4 separate regions of the Homo sapiens genome follow, and all the other regions are linked to region 2. Evidence: promoter capture Hi-C in human tissues and cell types (Jung and others, 2019). All regions are on one chromosome and are shown on one strand. Each heading gives the region's core, a stretch centred on a gene start or on the middle of the fragment in contact. The rest is flanking DNA. Distances are from core to core; before and after follow the strand shown. Region 1 overlaps STX2 (syntaxin 2). Region 2 holds the start of MMP17 (matrix metallopeptidase 17). Region 3 overlaps STX2 (syntaxin 2). Region 4 has its middle 61 kb from the start of RIMBP2.

Region 1 (2,700 bases), core at 110-2,609, 1.0 Mb before region 2:
TTAATGGCAGGAGATTCTTTAAAATAAATACATTTTTACAAAGAACTTACATGGAAGAGTTAAGCAACCAAGTAAAAGGAATAAAATCAGAAAAATAGTAATTTGACAAAGGGGGCAGGAAGGCTAAAGACAATTTAAAAAGTCTCATTTCCAAGAAGTGAAATCAGGAAATCCCAGCATCTTAACTCCTTCATACCTTAAAGGAAGTTCCTTGTAGCTAACAATTTAATCTCATGGTTTTTTCCTTTAAATAACAGTAGCAACTAACAAATACTAGAAAACCAGTGACTAGGCTTACGTGAGATATTCAAGAAATTCTGGCTGAATCTGAAAAACTAGTAACTTTCCATATGCTTTTATAAACCTATTAAAATGTTCAAATCCAGGCACTGCTAGGCCAGATGAGGCTGCTGAGTGAAACTATCCCATGAGACTCAGCATAATCAAGACGAGTCCTGCAATGAAGGTTCCGTCATTAAAAAACCCACTGGACGTGTGTTTTCGTTTCTTCATGTTTTACAAGGTCAATATATTTGTTCTGTGACTCAATTTCAAAAATTTGAAATTAAGCAACATTAGATCAGATAATTCTTAGGTTTGAGAATTTCAGCAGGGCCTAAGCCCAAGAGCTGAGCTGGGGAGATAAGCAGGAGGGGGAGGCCTCACACCTCAGATAGGATCCCAGCACCGCCAGGCCGCCACATTTTAAAATATCAGCCACTGGGTCACCTGTGACTTTCCTCTGAGTCTTCTACCTGAGCTCATATACAGCTGATCTGTCACCGATTTCAGACCCTGAGCCCTCTGCTCTAGGCACTTGCCTCAGGACTCACACCCACCAGTGGACGGATGGCAGTGCTGGTGGGAGCCACGCACACCTGACCCCTGCCCCCACAGCCAGGCGCCACCTCTGCTGCCGGAACCACCACTTCCTGAAGAACCAAGGAGGCCTCGTTCTGAGACACTGCCAGTCTTGCAGGAAGGCCTTTGTAAAACTCTCTTAAGGGGCGCCGCAGGACCTCCAAAAGGCAGCCTGCAAGGAGGCGGTGCTCCTGCAGCAGCCAGCACCGGGTGGGAGAAGTGGCCGCCCACCAGCAGAGGGCGCTGCAGGCCCGGCCCCAACCCACGCGGAGGCCACGTGCACAGCTCCACCATCCACACCCAGTTCCCTCCCGGACTGCATTAGAACGATGATTTGCATTTTTCTCATTATTAACATTGTGATCATACTAAAAATTCCAGAGAACTTACGTAATTCAAACAACAACTTTTAAAAATATTAGCTTAAGTATTATTTCAAATATGATAAATGCACAATCATATTGATATAAATCTTTAAAGAAGAAAGCCACCAGGCACAAGGGCTCACACCTGTCATCCTAGCACTTTGGGAAGCTGAGGCGGGCGGATTGCCTGAGCTCAGGAGTTTGAAACCAGCCTAGGCAACATGGTGAAACCCCGTCTCTACTAAAAGTGCAAAAAAAAAAGAATTAGCTGGGTGTGGTGGCACACACCTGTGGTCCCAGCTACTTGGGAGGCTGACGCAAGAGAATCACTTGAACCTGGGAGGCAGAGGTTGCAGTGAGCCGAGATTGTGCCACTGCACTCCAGCCTGGGCAACAGAGCAAGACTCTGTCTCCAAAAACAAGAAAAAGAAAAGGAAAAAGAAAAAGAAAGAAGGGAGGAAGAAAGGAAGGGAGGGAGGGAGGGGTGGGGAGGGGAGGGGAGGAAAGGGAGAGGGAGGGAAGAAAGGAGGGAGGGGTGGGGGGAGGGAGGGAGGACAGGTAGGCAGGCTATGATTGGGTTTCATTAAACGCTCTTACCTGATGGAAGAAATCATCCATGAAATGATCTTTCTCAACCACAACAACTGTGTCTCCATCATCATTCTTCCTACACTACAATGAAAAATGGAAAATTCAGTTTTTTAAAATTTTTATGTAGGCACAAATAGCGAACTGAAATACAAAAACAGTTCAATACCCACAAGATCTCAACTCACTACAGCACCAAATTGTAACAGACTAGCAGCCACCACTATCTACTCCAACTGAACTCCGCAACATTTTCAACACAACAGATCCTGGCTGAAGCAGCCAGAAGGTGGAAGACCTGGAGAGAAACAAGGGGTGGCTTTCTCAGAACTAAGCTGCTTAGAATCATTTAGTTCTCACTATGTAAGTCAATATAACACAGGCCAGTTTTACCCTCAAGAAGTGAAACTGCTGGTGTTGCATATTTTCCATAAACAGTAAAAACACTGGCCAGCCGCAGTGGCTCACGCCTGTAATCCCAGCACTTTAGGAGGCTGAGGGGGGCAGAATGCTTAAGTCCAGGAATTCAAGACCGGCCTGGGCAACATGGTGAAAACCTGTCTCTACAAAAAATTAGCTGGGCCTAGTGGCCCATGCCTGTGGTCCCAGCTACTTAGGAGGCTGAGGTGGGAGGACTACCTGAACCTGGCAGGTTTAGCTGGGCCTAGTGGCCCATGCCTGTGGTCCCAGCTACTTAGGAGGCTGAGGTGGGAGGACTACCTGAACCTGGCAGGTTGGGGCTGCAGTGACCCTGTCTCTAAAAACAAAACAAAACAAAGCAAACCCCAGCACCACCCAGAAGAACGACCATTGATCAGGAGCTGAAGACCTGGGCTCCAGCCTCCTCCCCAGCAGCCCATTAGCTTGTCTCAGTCTCTGCCTCTTG
Region 2 (2,700 bases), core at 107-2,606:
GGCACGGTTGTGCACGCTTGAAATCCCATCTACTCAGGAGGCTGAGACAGGAGAATCATTTGAATTTAGGAAGCAGAAATTACAGTGAGCCAAGATCGTGCCACTGCACTCCAGCCTGGGCAACAGAGCAAAAAAAAAAAAAAGAAAGAAAGAAAAAACAATCCGGGATGTCCTGTGAAAGTCCCCACCTCCTACAGGTGATCCCATCAGTCCGAACCAAGGTCATCTGAAGCAGGTGTGGAATCACCCTGTTCAGACCGGGCCAGGGAGGCTCTGAGGGCAGCAGGGACAGGATGGGCCAGAGTACCCAGGGAAGCGGGGGGGGGGGGGGGGGGGTGGTTGGGGGGAGTCGGCCCTCACAGGAGGGGAGGGGCACCACTTCCCTGAGACCAGTTCTGGTAAAAGGGGCCGAGCCTCAGTTTCCCTGTCCGTAGAATGAGACCTCAGTCCTGACAGTACCAGCTGCGATTTGGGGTGGTGGAGCAGGAGGGCCTGGGAAGGAGGGGAAGCCATGCTGTCCAGCACGAGGAGAAGCTGAATAAAGGCAAGGGTTACCCTTGAACCTCACCCCCTGCCCTCTCCCAAGATCTCCCACTCGGTGGGCAGCCTGTACGCAACTTGCACGAGTTCAATCCACACAAGCGCCTGCTCGGGCTCTGACCCTGGCTCTGCCGCTTGCCCGCTCCAGGACCTCCCATAAGTTACTTCATTTCTTTGGGCCTCAGTTTCTTTGTCTGCGAAATGGAAATCATAGTTTTCATCTCATAAATGTTGTAAGTAAATGAAATTATTTATGTAACTCCTGGGCATGTGCCAGGCACACGCTGCGCTCCAACAAACATTACAAGTTAACATTCTCGCTCCCAGGCCCGCAGGGACCGCAGAGCCTCCGCCGAGGACCCCAGCCCCCCCAACACCCGCCCTCGCCCTCCAGTCCCCCGCGCCCCCCAAGCCCCACCCTCCCTCTCCCGCGGTCCGCGGGCTCCACCAAGCGCCCACCTGCTGCGCTGCGGCGGCGGCTCCGGGGCCTGAACCCGGGTCTGAACCCGGGCCTCGGCGCCGTGGGGGGTGGACCCGGGAGCGCGGCCGGAGAGGGGAGTCAGGGTCAGCTCCCCGCAGGCGCCCCGACCCCCGCCTCCGCGCCCATCCCGCGCGTCCCCGCCGCCCCAAGAGCGTCCTAAGACACCCGGGGAAACGCCTTCCCTGTGATGCCGCGGACCCAGTCCCGTCGCGGACACGGCGGGGCGGGCGGGGGTGGCAGCGTCCGAGGCGGCGCGGGCCCTTTAAGGCGGCCGGCCTCGTTAGCATACATTTGCATGGCCCCGCCCCGCCGCTTGAGGCTGCCGCGCGGGGCTCAGTCCGGCGGGGGCGCCGCGGAGAGCGGAGGGCGCCGGGCTGCGGAACGCGAAGCGGAGGGCGCGGGACCCTGCACGCCGCCCGCGGGCCCATGTGAGCGCCATGCGGCGCCGCGCAGCCCGGGGACCCGGCCCGCCGCCCCCAGGGCCCGGACTCTCGCGGCTGCCGCTGCCGCTGCTGCTGCTGCTGGCGCTGGGGACCCGCGGGGGCTGCGCCGCGCCCGCACCCGCGCCGCGCGCCGAGGACCTCAGCCTGGGAGTGGTGAGCGCGCGGGCGGGACGGGCGCGGAGCTCCTGGGCCGGAGCCGGGGGTCTCCGCGGGCCGGGTGGCGGGGACCGGGAAGACCCCAGCAGTGCACGTCGGCGTCGCGCGGGAGCCCTGGCGCCCTGGACCCATTTCCTGGGTGGGGAGACTGAGGCAGGGACGCGGGCTGAGCGACCGGGCGAGCGCACGCGAGTCCTGGGGAGGCGCCGGCTGCCGTCCCGGCTCCGTGCGCTGGGAGCGCGCCGCAGCCGCAGGAGCCCGTGGAGTTGTGAGGGGGTCGCCCACCCGGAGCCCGGGTCGCCGGCTTGCAGCAGCCCCGGAGCAGCCGGGCTGGGCGAGAGCAGGCATCGCGGCCGCCCCGAGCTCTGCGCGCTGCGTGCGTTCCGGGTGGGAGTGGCGGGGGCAGGAGCACGCACCCACAAAGCGAGGAAGGGCAGGGGCTACGGAGTGGGGGCACCCCGAAAGCCTTGAGCCCCCGAGTTTGCTCGGTTGAGGGTGTTGGGGGCACAGGGATGCTGGCCCCCAGCTCCCCACTGGACAAGGACCTGGCCCTCAGCCTCCTTCCCCTCCACCCCAGGTCGGCCAGGCTGGCCCTGCCTTGCCCTGGTACAGTGCTGAGCCGGGGGCGCGGGGAGAGCCTTCCTCACTCCACACCCAGTAGCTGTCCCCAGCTCAGCTTAGAAACCCTGCCTGGGGGCAGCGACGTGGCCTCTTCCTACAGCCCCCTCCCCTGTTCCGCAGCCGGGACTCGCGTCTCCTGTGGACCCGGAAGATTTAGAGCACACGTCGTGGGGTCAGCGCCCCCCCGCTGGGGCGGCCGGGTGAACTCCCGCTGGGTTCGTTGGTTCCTTCTGAGGCTCCTGCCCCACCGCTGCCTTCAATGGACTCCTACCCAGGGAGTCGGGCCAGGAGCCGAGGCCTCCCCGCCCCACACAAGTACTCGGCCTGGCCCTCGTCCGCGGACAGTCTCCCAGTGGGGTCCTGGCAGGGCCCCTCGCCCAGCGCAGTGGACATTCAGGAGCTCCAAAACCTTGGGGTCCAAGCAAGTCAGCGCAGGTGTATTTCAGGCAGTCGAGGCAT
Region 3 (2,700 bases), core at 106-2,605, 1.0 Mb before region 2:
AAATGCAAGATCCCAAAGGCTAAACCATGCTCATGTGATTTAACTACATTCTAAAACAAAGCCCAAGGAGATTTACAAAAATACTCAAAATACAGAAATACTCAGCACCCAACAAAGTAACGTTCACAATGTCTGGCACACACTCGAAACTTACCAGGCTCGCAAAGAAGCAGGAAAACACAAGCCACAGAAAGGAAGGAAATCAACCAACCAGAGCAGACAGGACACTGGAGTTGGCAGACAAAGACGGTTCAAGTTACTACAAGTGCGTCCCAGTTGTACAGTGGGGAGCAACACAGCAGACATGTAAAACACCCAGCAGAACTAGCAACAGAAACCAGTGTCTCCGATGAAACATACACCAGAGGAGGTTAAAGGCAGATCAGACAAGCAAGAGAAACTGACCAAAACCAAACACACTGGAAAAGAGTATCTAAAACATGAGGAGCCTCGCTGAGCTGTGGGACAAGGTCAAGCGGCCTGGCGGGCATATGACAACATTCTCTGAGGGGGATGTGCGGCGTTGGGAGCCGGGATGGGCCTGAGGCTTCATCTGACCTGCGAGCTGACACGCTGGCCTGCCAGGGCTCCGTGGGGGCCGGCAGAAGGTCCAAGGCCCCAGGTCAGGGACAAAGGGATTTCCTACTCACAGCACAGCAGGCAACCTGAGGCTCATGAGCAGCTGTCCACGGCCCCCAGTCTCATGGGGAGAGGCAGAGCAGCTGCAGTGGGACGTCCTCACAGTGGGTTTGTGTCACAGCTGAAGGACCCGAGCTTGGGAACCCCAATCTTTCACAATGGGGAGTCTACAAACCTGACCAACCTTTATCCCTGAAACAGACCCGTCTGTCCCCGAAGAAGGCGCCATCTCCACTGCCACAGCCAACTGTCCCCATAGACACCCCTGAAAAGAGTCTGGGGCAATAGGGCCGCTGCCTCTGCTCACAGACAAGGAGAGATGTGAGGAGCCATGAAGATGCCCCCGAACCAGGGCAGGGCGGGACTGAGGACACAGAAACACTCAAAGAGGAAATGACTGAGCACTCTCCCAATCTCCCTGAAACTCTAAAAGCAACAGCAATGAGCAAGGTAAACCCCACCGCTTAGGACTTCCTGAAGACAGGAAGAACAGGTTTGCCTGACTCACGGCATAGGAAGCTACGAGTGGTCTTTGGGTTTTACACTATTGGTGAAAATAGACATGGATTTCCTTTTCTGAAGTTAAAGTCATTTGAAGTGAGACCTTAAGGGAGAAAAACATGATTTTAACAAAGACGGAGTCTCCATTACTCACTTATCTCCAGCTGGCGCTGGATGCGGCCTTTGCTCCGCTCCCGAAACAGAGTCTGTGCCTCATTGTACTCCGCCATGGCTTCCACAAACTTCCGAGACAGCACCGAATGCTAACAACACAGGAAAACTACATTCGTATCTGAGGGCCATGCCTTCTACTGAAAGTGACATGCAAGACATGCATTTTGGAAACTCAAACTACATGTTATTCTGCTCCTGCAAATGGAAAATGACAATGGCAAAGTCCCCATGGCAGCATCTGTGCTAAGAACTTTGCATGCATGATCTTACCTAATTTTTACAAGACCCCTACTATGCCGGTCACAACCCTACTTAAAGAAAACCATGACTTTGAGGTCATTAGCCCAAGGTCACAGGCTTTTCTGATAAACACAGATCAGCACTGGGACCCAGGCAGGTGGACCCCAGAGCCCGCGTGCTTCATCGCCTTGTGCCCATGAGGGGACCCAGGCAAGCGGACCCCAGAGCCCGCGTGCTTCATCGCCTTGTGCCCATGAGGGGACCCAGGCAGGCGGACCCCAGAGCCTGCGTGCTTCATCGCCTTGTGCCCATGAGGGGACCCAGGCAGGCGGACCCCAGAGCCCGCGTGCTTCATCGCCTCGTGCCCTCGAGGCCTCAGGGCTCTGTCTTCCTCTGGGCAGTACCACAAACCACTAAAACGTGGCGGCCTTACCACAAACACTAAAATCATTTGGATAATTCCCTACTCTTTGGAATAGAACTCTGTTGATGGACCGAATAGATTTTTCTTCACAATAAAGAGATTTCTATAAATACTGTGAAAGGAAAATAAAATCGCAGGACCTCACACTCACTATCCCAAAGGGACAGTTAAGCTTGGGAACTGAGTCATGCAAAACACTGCCCTCCCTCCTCTTCTCAAACAGATGGCTGCAGTGACAGAAGGCCGCACATCGCCCCAGCAGCCTCCTGCACAAAGTGCTCACAAGGAAATTCCTCGTAGGTCCCAGAATCTTTCAGAATCCATATCCCCCCCACCAAAAACTAACTCTAAAACAGAGTTCTGCAGAATCTCACCCTGACAATGTACATTAGCCGCTTACCTTCACAGGTACAGGACAAAGACAAGACTAGAAGTCACCCTCGGCCCACCCTGAGAAATGCATGTATAGCTCCTCCCTCACCTCAGGCTCACACTGGCCCACGTAAGAGGCGGATCTGGGCACGGGAGGAGTGCAGAATCGACCCCCACTCCTCTCTTCCCACATGTGAAATGTGAACGCAGTGAGCCCTGAGCAAAGCCTCACAGCAGTGTGGCCACCCCGCTGCCTACCCCCACTTTTTCTCTTTTTTTTCCCCTTTCCTCCTTCCTCTCCTGCCCGCTCTTTCCCCTTTAAATACTGAAGTCCTCAAAACCCTCTTCAG
Region 4 (2,714 bases), core at 9-2,508, 1.1 Mb before region 2:
TCCAAGCTAACTGCTGAAGCCGAGAGTTCTGACGGGCAGCAGTGGGCGTGCATGAAGCCTGAGTCACCATTTCAAAGCGCTGTGGCGGAGCAGAGGCATCTGCTCTGGGCACTGGCTTCCCAGCTGGAAGGAGGCACCTCCCAGCAAGTCGCCCTTGGGCCAAGAGCCTTGGAGCTCCCTCCCGGTCTCCCGGGTCCCAGGACAGGCGTTTTCATTTACCCATGGGTCTTTACTACAACTTGCGTTAGGCACTACTTCCTTACAAAACCATCCATGGGTCCAAAGACAGTTCTGTTAGTCTCTCTCTGACAATACCCCAAAACACCTCTAACCTCCGTGTGTGCGGATCTGCTGTAATCTTGGCCCTCACTTTGTAATAACAGCAAACATTATGGCCGGGGTCAGAGCCAAAGTCCATTCTCCCGTTATTTCATTTAACGCTCGCTGAATCAAGCTGCACTGAGGTCCTATTGTTCAAACAGGAAGTAGCAGTGCAGGGGACGATGCGGCCGCAGGGCTAGAAAAGGCTGGAGCTGGGGTCAGAACAGGCTTTGCCTCCATGAGAGCGCTGTCCAGCTGCTGGTTTCTGGCCCCAGCCGGCTCTCCTGTTACTGTTCTGCTGCACTGTGGCTGGTTTTGCTTACGCTCGCAGTGCTGCTATAAAAACTTAAGTAGCACAGGGTTCACCTTCTGGACTAATGTAAATAGCCAGAGCCGAAATATTCACGCAAAATGCATTTCATCACATTTACTGAGTGTCTATGTGTCAAGTAACACCCTAAGCTCTGTACGTGTAGAATATTTTTTTTCCTTTTAGATATGGGGTCTCACTATCCTGCCCAGGCTGGAGGGCAATGGCTATTCACACGTATGATCATAGCGCACTGCAGCCTCGAACTCCAAGGCTCAAGTGATCCACCTCAGCCTCCCCAGCAGCCAGGACTCCAGGCACATGCCTCCACTCCCGGCTTTTATGTACAGTCTTATTAAATACTCGCTGTGGCCCAAAAATGTGAGCACTGTTATGAACCCATTTTACGGAGGAGGAAACTCAGGCTTAGGATCATTAAATAAGTTGCCCACAGTCACACAGTCAGCGTGGGAGCCAGGCTCTCAGCCAGCAGAGCTTTCTTCATGCAGGATTCCACCTCCTCCCTCAACTTCAGACCCAGCTGGATCCTGGGGGGCTGAGGGCCCCTGCCTGGCATCACACTAAGGGTCAACACCAGTGCAGGTGCACCGACACCCTGAACAGCCCATGCCTCTCCCAGGGTACACCTGCTTAGGAAAAGGCCTGACAGAGACTCCATGCCCCTGGCAGTAACTCCCTGTGTTAGAAAGCAGAACACAGTGACGGGCCACAGGCCAGGTGGGGACACAGACTTGTGTGGTTAGGCACATGTAGGTTTTTGTTTTTAAAATGAAATGGACATTTTGAAAAGCCAATCAAAATCTCATAATTTCCAGTTTCTCTTGAACGTTTGATGCCCAGCAGCCCTTGGCTCTTATTTGTACATGGCAACAGCTATAGCCCCAAGGCAGCCTCCTGCCACCCAGAGCCTCCAATCCACAATTGCCAGCATCCCCACTCCCTGATCCCACATGCTGAGGCACTTGTCATGTACCCTGGGCTGGCACTGCTGCTTCTGCCCAGTAAAGAAAGGTCTCTCTGTGCCCATGCTCTCTGCTTCCGGTGAGGAAATGAAACACAGAACCTCCTGGCTTCTGGGACGTCCCCTCCCTGGCTGGCCGCTCCTCCCCTCCTAACTTGGGAGCATCAGGGGTCCAGGGCTCACTCCTGCCCCTTGTCTTCCCCCTGTCACTCACCAGCCAGGTGCTCCTGTCATTCATCCTGCGGCCCTCTCCCCAGAGCCAGTGTTGAGTGTCCAAATGCTTCCCCCATATCCCCTTGCATATCTGATCACAGCCGAGACCTAACTGAACTCCTGGGCTAGGCCCAGTGGCTCATACCTGTAATCCCAGCACTTTGGGAGGCTGAGGCAGGAGCACTGTTTGAGCTCAGGAGTTAGAGACCAGCGTGGGCAACACAGCAAGACCCCATCTCTACAAAAAAATTTAAAAATTAGCCAGGTGTGGTGGTGTGCACTTGTAGTCCCAGCTACTTGGGAGGCTGAGGCAGGAGGATTGCTTGAGCCCATGAGTTCGAGGCTGCAGTGAGCTGTGATCATGTCACTGCACTCCAGCCTGGGCAATAGAGCAAGACCTCATCTCAAAAAACAAAACAAAAAACACAACTGAACTCCTGAAACTCTTAGCCCTCCCCTAACACTTGCCCCTCCTCTGTCTGCTTTCCTCCTTGAAGACCATCCTTCCAGCTGCCCAGGCTGGTCTTCCTTGCCTCCTCTCCTTCTCAGACCCCAACACCAAATCCATCTGCAAATCCTCATTTCTGTTAACATTGTTGAGACATAACTCATATACCATACGATTCAATTGTTCTTAGGATATTCACAGAATTGTGCAACTGTCACCATTAATTTTAGAATCTTTTCATTACCCCATAAAGATACCCCATACCCTCTAACAGCCCAGCCAAAGGGCTTTTGACTCAAACCTCAAAGTATATTGATAAAGTGTCCAACCTCTTTTGCCCCAACTTCAGCTGCCACTCTAAGTCCCCGCCACCTCCTGTCTAGATGGCCTCAGGAACCTCATAATCGCTCTTCCTTTTTGTTTTTTTGCGGAAGAGGGGG

What was found. Contacts are between HindIII fragments. The study calls those that stand out against the background at their distance.
Region 1: a contact is called between a fragment that was not itself captured here and the fragment with the promoter of MMP17 in region 2, in 1 of the 25 tissues and cell types used here (dorsolateral prefrontal cortex).
Region 3: a contact is called between a fragment that was not itself captured here and the fragment with the promoter of MMP17 in region 2, in 1 of the 25 tissues and cell types used here (dorsolateral prefrontal cortex).
Region 4: a fragment that was not itself captured here is called in contact with the fragment with the promoter of MMP17 in region 2 in 1 of the 25 tissues and cell types used here (lymphoblastoid cells).

What each region holds. Positions count from the first base shown.
Region 1 is chr12:130,825,370-130,828,069 of GRCh38, forward strand. It overlaps STX2 (syntaxin 2), which reads right to left. Exons shown (of 11, transcript NM_194356.4): 2 at 1,824-1,898. Among named protein-coding and RNA genes, the nearest start is that of STX2, 13 kb to the right of the region's middle. The HindIII fragment of the contact is 9,657 bases long and covers 1-2,700 here.
Region 2 is chr12:131,827,037-131,829,736 of GRCh38, forward strand. It overlaps MMP17 (matrix metallopeptidase 17), which reads left to right and starts at 1,357. Exons shown (of 10, transcript NM_016155.7): 1 at 1,357-1,617. The coding sequence starts at 1,459. RefSeq lists a silencer at 1,222-1,351. The HindIII fragment of the contact is 32,715 bases long and covers 1-2,700 here.
Region 3 is chr12:130,805,688-130,808,387 of GRCh38, forward strand. STX2 (syntaxin 2) reads right to left here. Exons shown (of 11, transcript NM_194356.4): 6 at 1,295-1,403. Among named protein-coding and RNA genes, the nearest start is that of STX2, 32 kb to the right of the region's middle. RefSeq lists an enhancer at 207-1,129. The HindIII fragment of the contact is 5,694 bases long and covers 1-2,700 here.
Region 4 is chr12:130,776,255-130,778,968 of GRCh38, forward strand. No RefSeq gene overlaps it. Among named protein-coding and RNA genes, the nearest start is that of RIMBP2, 61 kb to the left of the region's middle. RefSeq lists a silencer at 370-664. The HindIII fragment of the contact is 9,624 bases long and covers 1-2,714 here.